Regions from separate parts of the Homo sapiens genome. Here regions 2 and 3 are each linked to region 1. The links are contacts of gene promoters, found by promoter capture Hi-C in human tissues and cell types (Jung and others, 2019). All regions are on one chromosome and are shown on one strand. Each heading gives the region's core, a stretch centred on a gene start or on the middle of the fragment in contact. The rest is flanking DNA. Distances are from core to core; before and after follow the strand shown.

What was found. The method cuts DNA at HindIII sites, captures the fragments that hold promoters and counts their contacts. A contact is called where the count stands out against the background at its distance.
Region 2: a contact is called between a fragment that was not itself captured here and the fragment with the promoter of FGF6 in region 1, in 2 of the 25 tissues and cell types used here (H1 embryonic stem cells and aorta).
Region 3: the fragment with the promoter of GALNT8 here is called in contact with the fragment with the promoter of FGF6 in region 1 in 1 of the 25 tissues and cell types used here (liver).

What each region holds. Positions count from the first base shown.
Region 1 is chr12:4,444,096-4,447,397 of GRCh38, reverse strand. FGF6 (fibroblast growth factor 6) reads left to right here and starts at 1,583. Exons shown (of 3, transcript NM_020996.3): 1 at 1,583-2,173; 2 at 3,162-3,265. The coding sequence starts at 1,828. The HindIII fragment of the contact is 16,147 bases long and covers 1-3,302 here.
Region 2 is chr12:3,963,649-3,966,950 of GRCh38, reverse strand. No RefSeq gene overlaps it. Among named protein-coding and RNA genes, the nearest start is that of LINC03141, 47 kb to the left of the region's middle. The HindIII fragment of the contact is 4,388 bases long and covers 1-3,302 here.
Region 3 is chr12:4,718,893-4,722,194 of GRCh38, reverse strand. It overlaps GALNT8 (polypeptide N-acetylgalactosaminyltransferase 8), which reads right to left and starts at 1,795. Exons shown (of 11, transcript NM_017417.2): 1 at 1,307-1,795. The coding sequence starts at 1,517. It overlaps GAU1 (GALNT8 antisense upstream 1), which reads left to right and starts at 2,093. Exons shown (of 4, transcript NR_110112.1): 1 at 2,093-2,330. RefSeq lists enhancers at 1-682, 683-1,678, 1,679-2,674. The HindIII fragment of the contact is 21,668 bases long and covers 1-3,302 here.

The sequences.
Region 1 (3,302 bases), core at 334-2,833:
GTGAACGAGGCAGAAGGGCAGAGAGAAGGCAGGTAGAAGCCACAGACCAGAGGCTGGGACCCAGGGCACAGCAGAAGGTTTAGAATCAGAGGGAAGGCGGTGGTGCCTCAGTAGAGTCCTTGGGCCATGGAACTCACCCCAGGAGCTTTTCCAGGCTGCCTGCAGCCTGCAATGTGGGTGTAGAGTGTGGCTAAGGGAGCTGCCTGCTGGGACCAGCTCTACTGCTCAGGACACTCAAATCCATCTGTATGCCACTGTCATCACCCCACACATACTCTCTCCAATCCCGGCAAAATCAGTGCTAATGTCTCACCAACAGATTAAGGCCTGGATTGAAGTACAAGAAACAGGATTTTTAACTCAAGTTAATTCAATTCCCCAGCGACCCTTGTTAACTTATTCACCCTCAGAGACGTATTAATAGTTCTGTCTTATATTGTATAGAAATTTGTGCAGTGAGTTTTCTGGTAGCTTTACATTTTTTTTCTCACTTCAGTTAGACATGTAATCTATTTAAAAGTAATATGGGAATAAGATAAATCAGTGTAGGAATAACTTCCTGGCAGAAATATTTTTACTAGTTTCTGAGTGTAATATCAGCCCAGCAAAAGTTATCTGCAAATATAGAAGTTCTCATGTACATCAAAGACACTCAAGTTTTTTTTAAGAAATAAATCATTTTATGCTACTGAAATAACTCTGTGATGTGCTATTGGCATTTAAGGAGCTAAACAGACTCTATGGGCCAGCCAACTTCTACTGCAAGCATTAGACATGCACAGGCTTTAGACTCAGGCACACCTTAGAAGTTCTGGCTTTGCTACTTATTAGCTATGGTAACTCGGGCAGGTCATTTATCCTCTCTAAGCCTCAACTTCCTCATCTGTGAAATGGGAATAATATCAGTCACATGCCAGGGATAAATCCAGGGAGAATGGCCAGGGGGCTGTGTCAAAGGCCAGACACAACTTCCACCCCAGGTGAATGTCGGGACCAGGACAGTGAGCAGGCAAACCTTGCCCTTGCCCTCCTTCCCTCCACAATCTTAAAGCTCCTTGAACAACCCCCATCCCCACCCCCTGAGAATGTCTGTGCCCTCCTGCTGAAAGGGTTTGGCCTTTCAGTGTTCCCCTCCACCATGAGCTGTTTCCATGAAAAGATCTCAAGGGTGACTTGAGGCTACGGTCATCACTACCACAAGCCTTTTCCCATCCCTGCCTCTACCTATTGCCCTCTAAATAAGGAAGCCAGCGCTGCCAGGCAAAGAACTTCTGCCCAATATGGGTCCTGGGTGGCCTCTCGCCTCTCTCTTTCCCTGGGCCCCCAGCCAGCTCCCCCCTCCCCCAGAGATGCTCCCTGCTCACTTCATTCCTGCCTCATAGTTGGAATGACAGTGGCTCCCAGAACCCCTGGGGAGTGTGGAGGGTGATGGGGGTCTGGGGAGGCAGCCAGGCCCAAGAGCAGGTTAATGTTACAGCCCTGGATAAGTGAGCTGGGCGGGTTGACGTCAGGGCGATGATGGGTGGAGGGGAGGGCCGGGCTGCTGAAGCAACTATAAAGATAGGTCAAATCAAATATCATCAACTAGGGACGGAGCAAGCGGGCGAGCTAGAGAGCGTCCCCGAGCCATGGTCTCTACCGGCCGCGGCTCAGCCTGGGTCCCTCTGCTCTCAACCCGAGTGCCCGATGGAGGCTTTGGTTTCATGTCAGCAGCCTTCATCTGCCTTCCAAAAATAAGCCCCTGCCGCCATGCCGGAGGGAGAAAAACAAGAAGGGCGGTATTTTTAGGGCCATTAATTCTGACCACGTGCCTGAGAGGCAAGGTGGATGGCCCTGGGACAGAAACTGTTCATCACTATGTCCCGGGGAGCAGGACGTCTGCAGGGCACGCTGTGGGCTCTCGTCTTCCTAGGCATCCTAGTGGGCATGGTGGTGCCCTCGCCTGCAGGCACCCGTGCCAACAACACGCTGCTGGACTCGAGGGGCTGGGGCACCCTGCTGTCCAGGTCTCGCGCCGGGCTAGCTGGAGAGATTGCCGGGGTGAACTGGGAAAGTGGCTATTTGGTGGGGATCAAGCGGCAGCGGAGGCTCTACTGCAACGTGGGCATCGGCTTTCACCTCCAGGTGCTCCCCGACGGCCGGATCAGCGGGACCCACGAGGAGAACCCCTACAGTGAGTGCCAGCTGCAGCCAGTCGGGACGCTTGGGGGTTTGGGCTCATGCAGGGCTAAAAGGTGAAGGGGCCCTGCTCTAGCGGACAGGATGCACGATAAAGGGGGCAGAAATGCTGCTCACCACTTAGATGATTCCACGTGACCCTGCCTGGGTGCAAGCTCAATATACTGCGGTCCAAGCATCCTGGTGTTCTTTGCCATCGCCTTGGTTAGATCCTCAGTGGCACTAACTATTTCAGCATTACTGGCCCATCTGATGCCTTGTAAGACCATTAGGAACCATTAGTCTGGGAAGCCCCCAAGGCCTGGGTAGGGAGAATCAGTTAGTATACTTGGATCAAATTTGACACAAGCTCATTTTTATTCAGCTTCTTTCTTGGAGAAGGAAGGGAAATTCAATTGCAAAATGTCCAACTGAAGCACATCCTTCTTTTTATTTCAGCGGCTCCCTCTGTCCCCAGGTTCTTATCCTGCAAGCTGCCTGCAAGCTGCCAGCTTGCTGTATGGTTAGTCTCCTATCCAAGAAAGGATGGGGGCTGCAGGATCCAAGAAAGCCATCAGCTATGGTGTGGCTGCTGTGTTTTCAAGATTAAGTGGGTTGAGATTTGTTGAAACATGTAGAGTACACATTAAGAAGAAGAAGAAGAATCAGAATTTATTTTTTTACTCAAGTCAAGGACCTCAAGTAATTATGTCACTGAAAGCCCAGATTCAAAGCTCATCTTAAACAGATAGCTAAGTGGTCACTGCAGCCCCTAACTCTGCTATCAGAACCTTCCCTTGCAGAACTGGATTTCTAACAGCACAATGGCAGCACTCGATGAGTCCAGCAGCCAGGGTCTCCTAGAGTTAGAGGGATCATGGATGGGGCAATGGAGAGTCTGGCTTTCTAGGAGAAGGGGGATGGACTGAGATGCCCTTGTCGGCTCAAGTTCCCACTCTGATTTGCACAAGCCTTAGGTAATGTGGCCCCCCTTTCCTTGTCAGGCCTGCTGGAAATTTCCACTGTGGAGCGAGGCGTGGTGAGTCTCTTTGGAGTGAGAAGTGCCCTCTTCGTTGCCATGAACAGTAAAGGAAGATTGTACGCAACGGTGAGTTCACCAGGCCGGGGAAGTGCCAGGTTTACAA
Region 2 (3,302 bases), core at 518-3,017, 480 kb after region 1:
CTTGGACAAGTTACTTCACCTTTCTGAACTGCAATTTTCTTATAGGTAAGATGGGATGATAATAGCCCCCACCTCACAGAGCTTGTTGTGAGGATCAATGAGGATAATGTAAAGTGTCATAAAAAATGGAAAGGGGTACTGCTACCAATAGAGCAGCTGGGAGTTAGGTGAACATGAATATTTTGAGTTTGCTCTGCCCGGGAGTCAGTGAAGACAGGAAAAGAACATGTGTGCATTCCTACTCTGCACAGACAGGGATTGATGGATGATGCTGTCGCTGGAAATATTTCTGTAGAGTAAGTTGCTAAACTTTCAGAGAGAAACCAGTGGGAAGCCAGGGAAGATTTCCTTAAAAGAGATGATTCTGAAGAATACCCGAGATGCCTGAGGTCTCAGTGCTTATCCTCACTTTTTAAAAACCCAAATGCCTCAGTTATCTCTGACACCTTTAAAGATGCTAGTACTGTACTATATCATGACTTGTCTTTCTGATCTCTGTTGTATGATCTATGTGTGCTCTTGGATTTCTGCCCAGCCATGTCATTGTTGATGTCTGTACCCATCAGTTGTATAGCCAGTAGTTCTCTTTGTGAGGATTGCAGCCCCATGCCACAAGCAATTATAACAAATATCAAAACACTTTGAGTCATTATGCTCCTTAGGTCAAGGGGCTGGGTCAAACAGAGCCAAAGGACATTTTCAGGAGCCCTATTTCTTCAGCTGATTTCTCTTCTGTTCTCCCTAACTCCTTGTGTATTCCAGCCATAATTCCTGCTGAACTTGGCTTAATATTTTGATCTTAGTTTTCATCCTGGTGGCCCAAACCTATGAACCATTCTTTTTTCTTATGATATGGAGACTTAACACCTTTGTTGAACATTTTCACAGCAGCCTTTCAGGGTTGGCCACACCACTCAGCAGCACTCTGCTCGTTCTGGGGCAGCCTTCAGGACATGGTATACAGAACGGGAAGAAAACTGACATTCTAGTCTTCTTTATGCTACCAAGTAACTGTGTGACCTTGGGTGAGTTGCCTTACCACTCTCGCCCTCAATTTGTTCATCTGTTAAAATTCTGGGCTGGATCCACGCCTTCTTGCTCTAAAGTTCTGTGATTTATATGTTTTGCCACAGTGAATGGGAAAAAAAAATCCCTGACCTTTGAATTCCTCCAAGGTCCCATCCTTCCTGTGGCCTTCCTGTAGTCTGTTTCTTGTGAACTATTAAAGAGTTAATTTCTCGCTCGTGGTCAGCAGATAGGCTTTGCTTGTGGTCATGTAGGGATGCAGGCACCTTTCCTCTCATGGCTGTGCCTTCTCTAGGTCCAAAGGGGGAAAGAGATTGGGAATGAAACAGTATTGGTTTCTACGGGTCAGGCTGGAACAAAGTATACATGACTTTGCTCCCTTTCCATTGGCTGTGATTTAGTCACATGATGACCTCTCATGGCAAGGGAGGCTGGAAAATGAAATCTGATTGTCTGAAGGAAGAGGACATGGCCACGGGGAGCACCAGCAGTGTGGGAAACCTAGGCACAGCTTGCCTTGAGGCAGAGGCTGGCATGGATCGCCTCTGGGAAGCATACAGATCTCTTTCTGCACAGAGGTTCTCACATACCAGTTTAAGCCAGGGAGTCAGTTGACTGTAATGAAAAATATGTTCATTCAGCAAATAGTTGTTAACATCACATTTGCACCAGGAACTATGAATACACTAAAAATGAATAATTCATAGTCCGAGGCCTCAGGGAGCTCAGTCTAGCAGATGAGCTAAGACAAAAACAATTGTCATCTGCAGTAGTATGTACATACTATAATGCGTACATGTAACCAGTATAGGAGAGAGACAATGTATTATAGGATTTCTAGAATGGAGAATTATAGTGTTTGATGCATGCCTTGGAAAACAGGAAGGAGTCCTACAGAGGGATACATGATTGGGAAAGAGGTGAGCGGAGTTGGGGAGAGATGACAAGATGTAATGCCGTGGTGGAAGGATGAGAGTTAGCAGACCTGGAAGAGTTTAGACTGCGTTTGTTATAAAATGAGTGCCACTGACAGTCTTGAGCATTTGAGCCTGTGGGCTTTAGAGGAAAAAGTGATCTCTGGACACATATCATATTCTCCACCCTTGGCCCAGAGCCTTGCCCTGCAAAGGCTAACCTGGTTCTGGAAGGAACAGGAGAAAATTGTGGATGACTTAGACTCCTGGAAAATCAAACCAAACCCAGGTCCACAAAAGGGGCGGTGGTGGAGAGGGATGGAGAGGTACTACGGGTGATCTACGGACATCGCCTCTCCTGGAGACCCACACTTTGGGGAGAGTAAACATTCACTGACCTCTAGTGGTCAAAATGGCGCCCAAGCGGTCCCACAAGCCCGGCTGCAAATGATAGCTGTTGGGGAAGAAATTGCTTAGATTAAATCCTCGCTTCTTTCCAGACTTTCCTTTTTCAGCCTCCATGGGCTTTCCCCCTTCATCTAAATAAATCTCTCCACCACTCACCGTCCCAACAAGGGTGCCTGGCCCAAGCTGGGGCGCTTCAGGAATGAAGGAGACAAATGGTGCCCATCCCGTCTCAGTGTGGGCCACAGCCTGCTGGTGCTATTCTTGCTTCATGAAGCTTCCTGGCTGTCAGTGGATAGCAATGCATATATTAAAACTCGGTATCCTACTCAAGGTTAAATTTTATTAGATTGTGAAGTGGGGTCAAGTTTTCTAATAATAATCACTAATGCTTAAGGAGCACTATAAGCCAGATGCCATTCTAAGCACTTTATATTGATTGATTGATTGAGACAGAGTCTTACTCTATTGCCCAGGCTGGAGTGCAGTGGCACAATCATAGCTCACTACAGCCTCCAACTCCTGGGCTCAAACAATCCTCCCACCTCAGCCTCCCGTGTAGCCAAGACTACAGGCGCGCACCAACACGTCTGGCTAATTTTTCACAATTTTTGTAGAGATAGAGTATCCCTATGTTGTTCAGGCTGGTTTCAATTGATCCTCCTGCCTTGACCTCACAAAGAATTGGGATTATAGTTATGAGCCACCATAGCCGGTCCTCAGTACTTTACATATGTGTGTGTGTGTGTGTAGTAAATATATATATATATATATGTTTACTTCTTATAAAAACTCTTAGAAGTAGGCACTGTTGTCTTCTCTCATTTTAAAGATGAGGAAATTGAGGCATGAAGGGGTTAAGTAACCAGCTCAAGATCACAAAGCTAGGCGGTATAACTGCAGAGCTTGTGCTTTTAGTGCAGGATATCGTCCCAGGGCCATCTTGGACAAGCCATG
Region 3 (3,302 bases), core at 546-3,045, 270 kb before region 1:
GAAAGGAAAGAGAGATCAGATTGTTACTGTGTCTGTGTAGAAAGAACTAGACATAGGAGACTCCATTTTGTTCTGTACTAAGAAAAATTCTTCTGCCTTGAGATGCTGTTAATCTGTAACCGTACCCCCAACCCCGTGCTCCCTGAAACATGTGCTGTGTCGACTCAGGGTTAAATGGATTAAGGGCTATGCAAGATGTGCTTTGTTAAACAGATGCTTGAAGGCAGCATGCTCGTTAAGAGTCATCACCACTCCCTAATCTCAAGTACCCAGGGACACAAAACACTGCGGAAGGCCACAGGGACCTCTGCCTAGGAAAGCCAGGTATTGTCCAAGGTTTCTCCCCATGTGACCATCTGAAATATGGCCTCGTGGGAAGGGAAAGACCTGACTGTCCCCCAGCCCGACACCCGTAAAGGGTCTGTGCTGAGGAGGATTAGTAAAAGAGGAAGGAACGCCTTTCTGCAGTTGAGACAAGAGGAAGGCATCTGTCTCCTGCCCGTCCCTGGGCAATGGAATGTCTCGGTGTAAAACCCGATTGTATATTCCATCTACTGAGATAGGAGAAAACCGCCTTAGGGCTGGAGGTGGGACATGCGGGCAGCAATACTGCTGTTTAAGGCATTGAGATGTTTATGTGTATGCATATCTAAAGCACAGCACTTAATTCTTTACCTTGTCTATGATGCAGAGACCTTTGTTCACGTGTTTATCTGCTGACCTTCTCTCCACTATTATCCTATGACCCTGACACATCCCCCTCTCCGAGAAACACCCAAGAATGATCAATAAATACTAAGGGAACTCAGAGGCTGGCGGGATCCTCCGTATGCTGAACGCTGGTCCCCTGGGCCCCCTTATTTCTCTCTACATACTTTGTTTCTGTGTCTTTTTCTCTTCCAAAGTCTCTCGTTCCACCTAACGAGAAACACCCACAGGTGTGGAGGTGCAACCCACCCCTTCAATAGGCCTAAGGACAGGTCTATGGCCCTTGGGATTCTTATTCTTCTCGTTGCCTGCACATATGTAGATATAATGATAATGCATGTGCACAAGCCCACACACGCATACACACACACATGCTCACCTCCCCCATACTGCTTGCTCTAATTTCCACTTCTACTCACTTCATTCTCAATACCCATCTCCCATTTGAAGGCACAGAATTCAGTGTCAGATGCTTCAATGAGCGACTGAGATGAAAATGTGACCTCTCACCCATTTTTCCTTCCATATCCCTTTTTCCTAAGTGCCCCAAACACACACACCCACACACACACCTTCCAGGTTAGCATTGTAAACTTACTCAGATCCTGCAATTCCACCTCCAAGTGGGAGAGTCTCTTTATCACTGCCCCGTAGCGTTTATTCAGATGTAAAGGAAGCTCCCTGTGGAGACCACCCGTAAACAGGTTTTGTAAAGTCCCCTTGCTAGAAAATACCAGAAGGAGATTGACAGCAATGGCCAGAGTCAGCCCAATGAAGAGGGCTTTGGGGAGTTTCCTCCAAAACATCATCTTCTTCCTGGGGGTCGTCCACTCCCTGTGGGACTGAGTGTGTCACTGCTGGAGCAGGTTAAGAATCAGAACCAGCCTAGCTTTTGTGGGAAAGAGAGTTCTAGGTGCCAGTTGAGTTGGTCTCCCCTGTGTGAGACACCCATGGGAAGCCACGGGTGGCCTCTGAGGAGCAAAGTCTCCTTATTGCCTTCTTTGTCTTTATGCCCCGAGAGGATAACCGCTCAGCGGCTTTCCACAGGTTGCTCAGCGGCTTTCCACAGGTTGCTCAGGGAGATAACACTCCCTTGAAGCAGAGGAGTATAATCAAACATCTTGGCTCCTCCTGAAACCCACTCCCACCCATTTCAGTCATTAAAGATCTTAAGTAGTTTAGACACACGCCTTTGCTCAAGGAAATTCACAGAAACCGCCACTGTTACACATCTTATCGAATGACTCACTGATTAATCCTTTTCCTCATCCCTTCCTCCCCTTCCCATCTGCCCTAAGAACAAAGAGCTTGTAAACCAATAAATTGGGTGGAGCCCAGAGCTCTGGGCCGTGAGCAAGCCTCCAACGCTCTGGTCCCCTGGACCTGCCTTTTAAACGCTTGTTCTGTCTCTTTCTAACTCCTTTGTCTCCGCCGGACTCGGGGTATCCGCTGGGTGGTGTGGGGCTGGTTTCCCCAACAGCTTTCTCTCCACCCAGCTTCATAGATGACACCCTGCCTGCTAGGCCAGATGTTCTCCGGCCAAGAACACTATTATAGCTGCCTGGCTTCTCCCTGAGCAGCGTCAGGTGTGAGGAGTGCGCATGGCAGCTGCCCAGTGACAGGTAAGTCACCTGGACACACCTTGTACTGTCTCAGAAGTCAGAAGAATGCTTGCTCCTGCAGCTAGCTCAGGCTGCCTGGGTGAGAGGCTTTTCTCTATATATGTTTGTTTGATGTTTAATGTTCTCTCTCCCTGGAAAAACCACCTGGGAGACTCTGATAGGGCATGTGAGGTCTGGTCCTGTGGGTATAAGAAGGGGATAAATAGGATGAAGAAGAAATCACGAAGCAAGAAGTCTCTGTACACTTAGATCCTTGCTTTTTTGGAGAGCTGGGATCTAAGATGTCTTTTTACCTAACTCTACAGGGTTTTGGACATAGTAGGTGTGCAACAAATGCTTGTCCCACAAACTTAAGGACAGACTTTCTTGCTAGTTCCTAGGACTTCACTGCCTAGAAGCAGGTGGAGAAGAGCTGGAGGCGGTGCCCGGGGTTGAGCCTCAGGGGATGACTCCGATTCACTGGTCTCTGTCCTTTGCTTGTCCTCTGCACAACTTCATACACTGGGCTTCTGCCCTGCCCCAGCTTCCAGTAACTCCTTTGCCTCCACACCTCACACTTATAATATGTTTTGGACAAATCACCAGTGATCATCATTGTAGAATAAACACATAAAATTGTTCCCCAAGGCTAAAAGTTCAAAGTTCTCAGTCTACTGTCAATCCCGTCAAAATCACAGCTTCCACCCCGGCCTGGCTCTTTGGACTATTTACTACGTCCCAAACACAGCACATGGTGACATGTGCTGAGGCGGACATGTGGATTAAAGGAAAGTAATGTGGCTTTAGGAAAAACAGGATGAAAATGAACAAAATGAAAAGGAATCACTTCTTCTGTTTCGCAGGGATAGAAAATGTCTCCCAGCCTCCCACTTGCAAATTAGACTCAAAACATAAGAAACGCATGATCCAGCCAGGCGCAGTGGCTCACGCCTGTAATCCCAGCACTTTGGGAGGCCGAGGCAGGTGGATCAC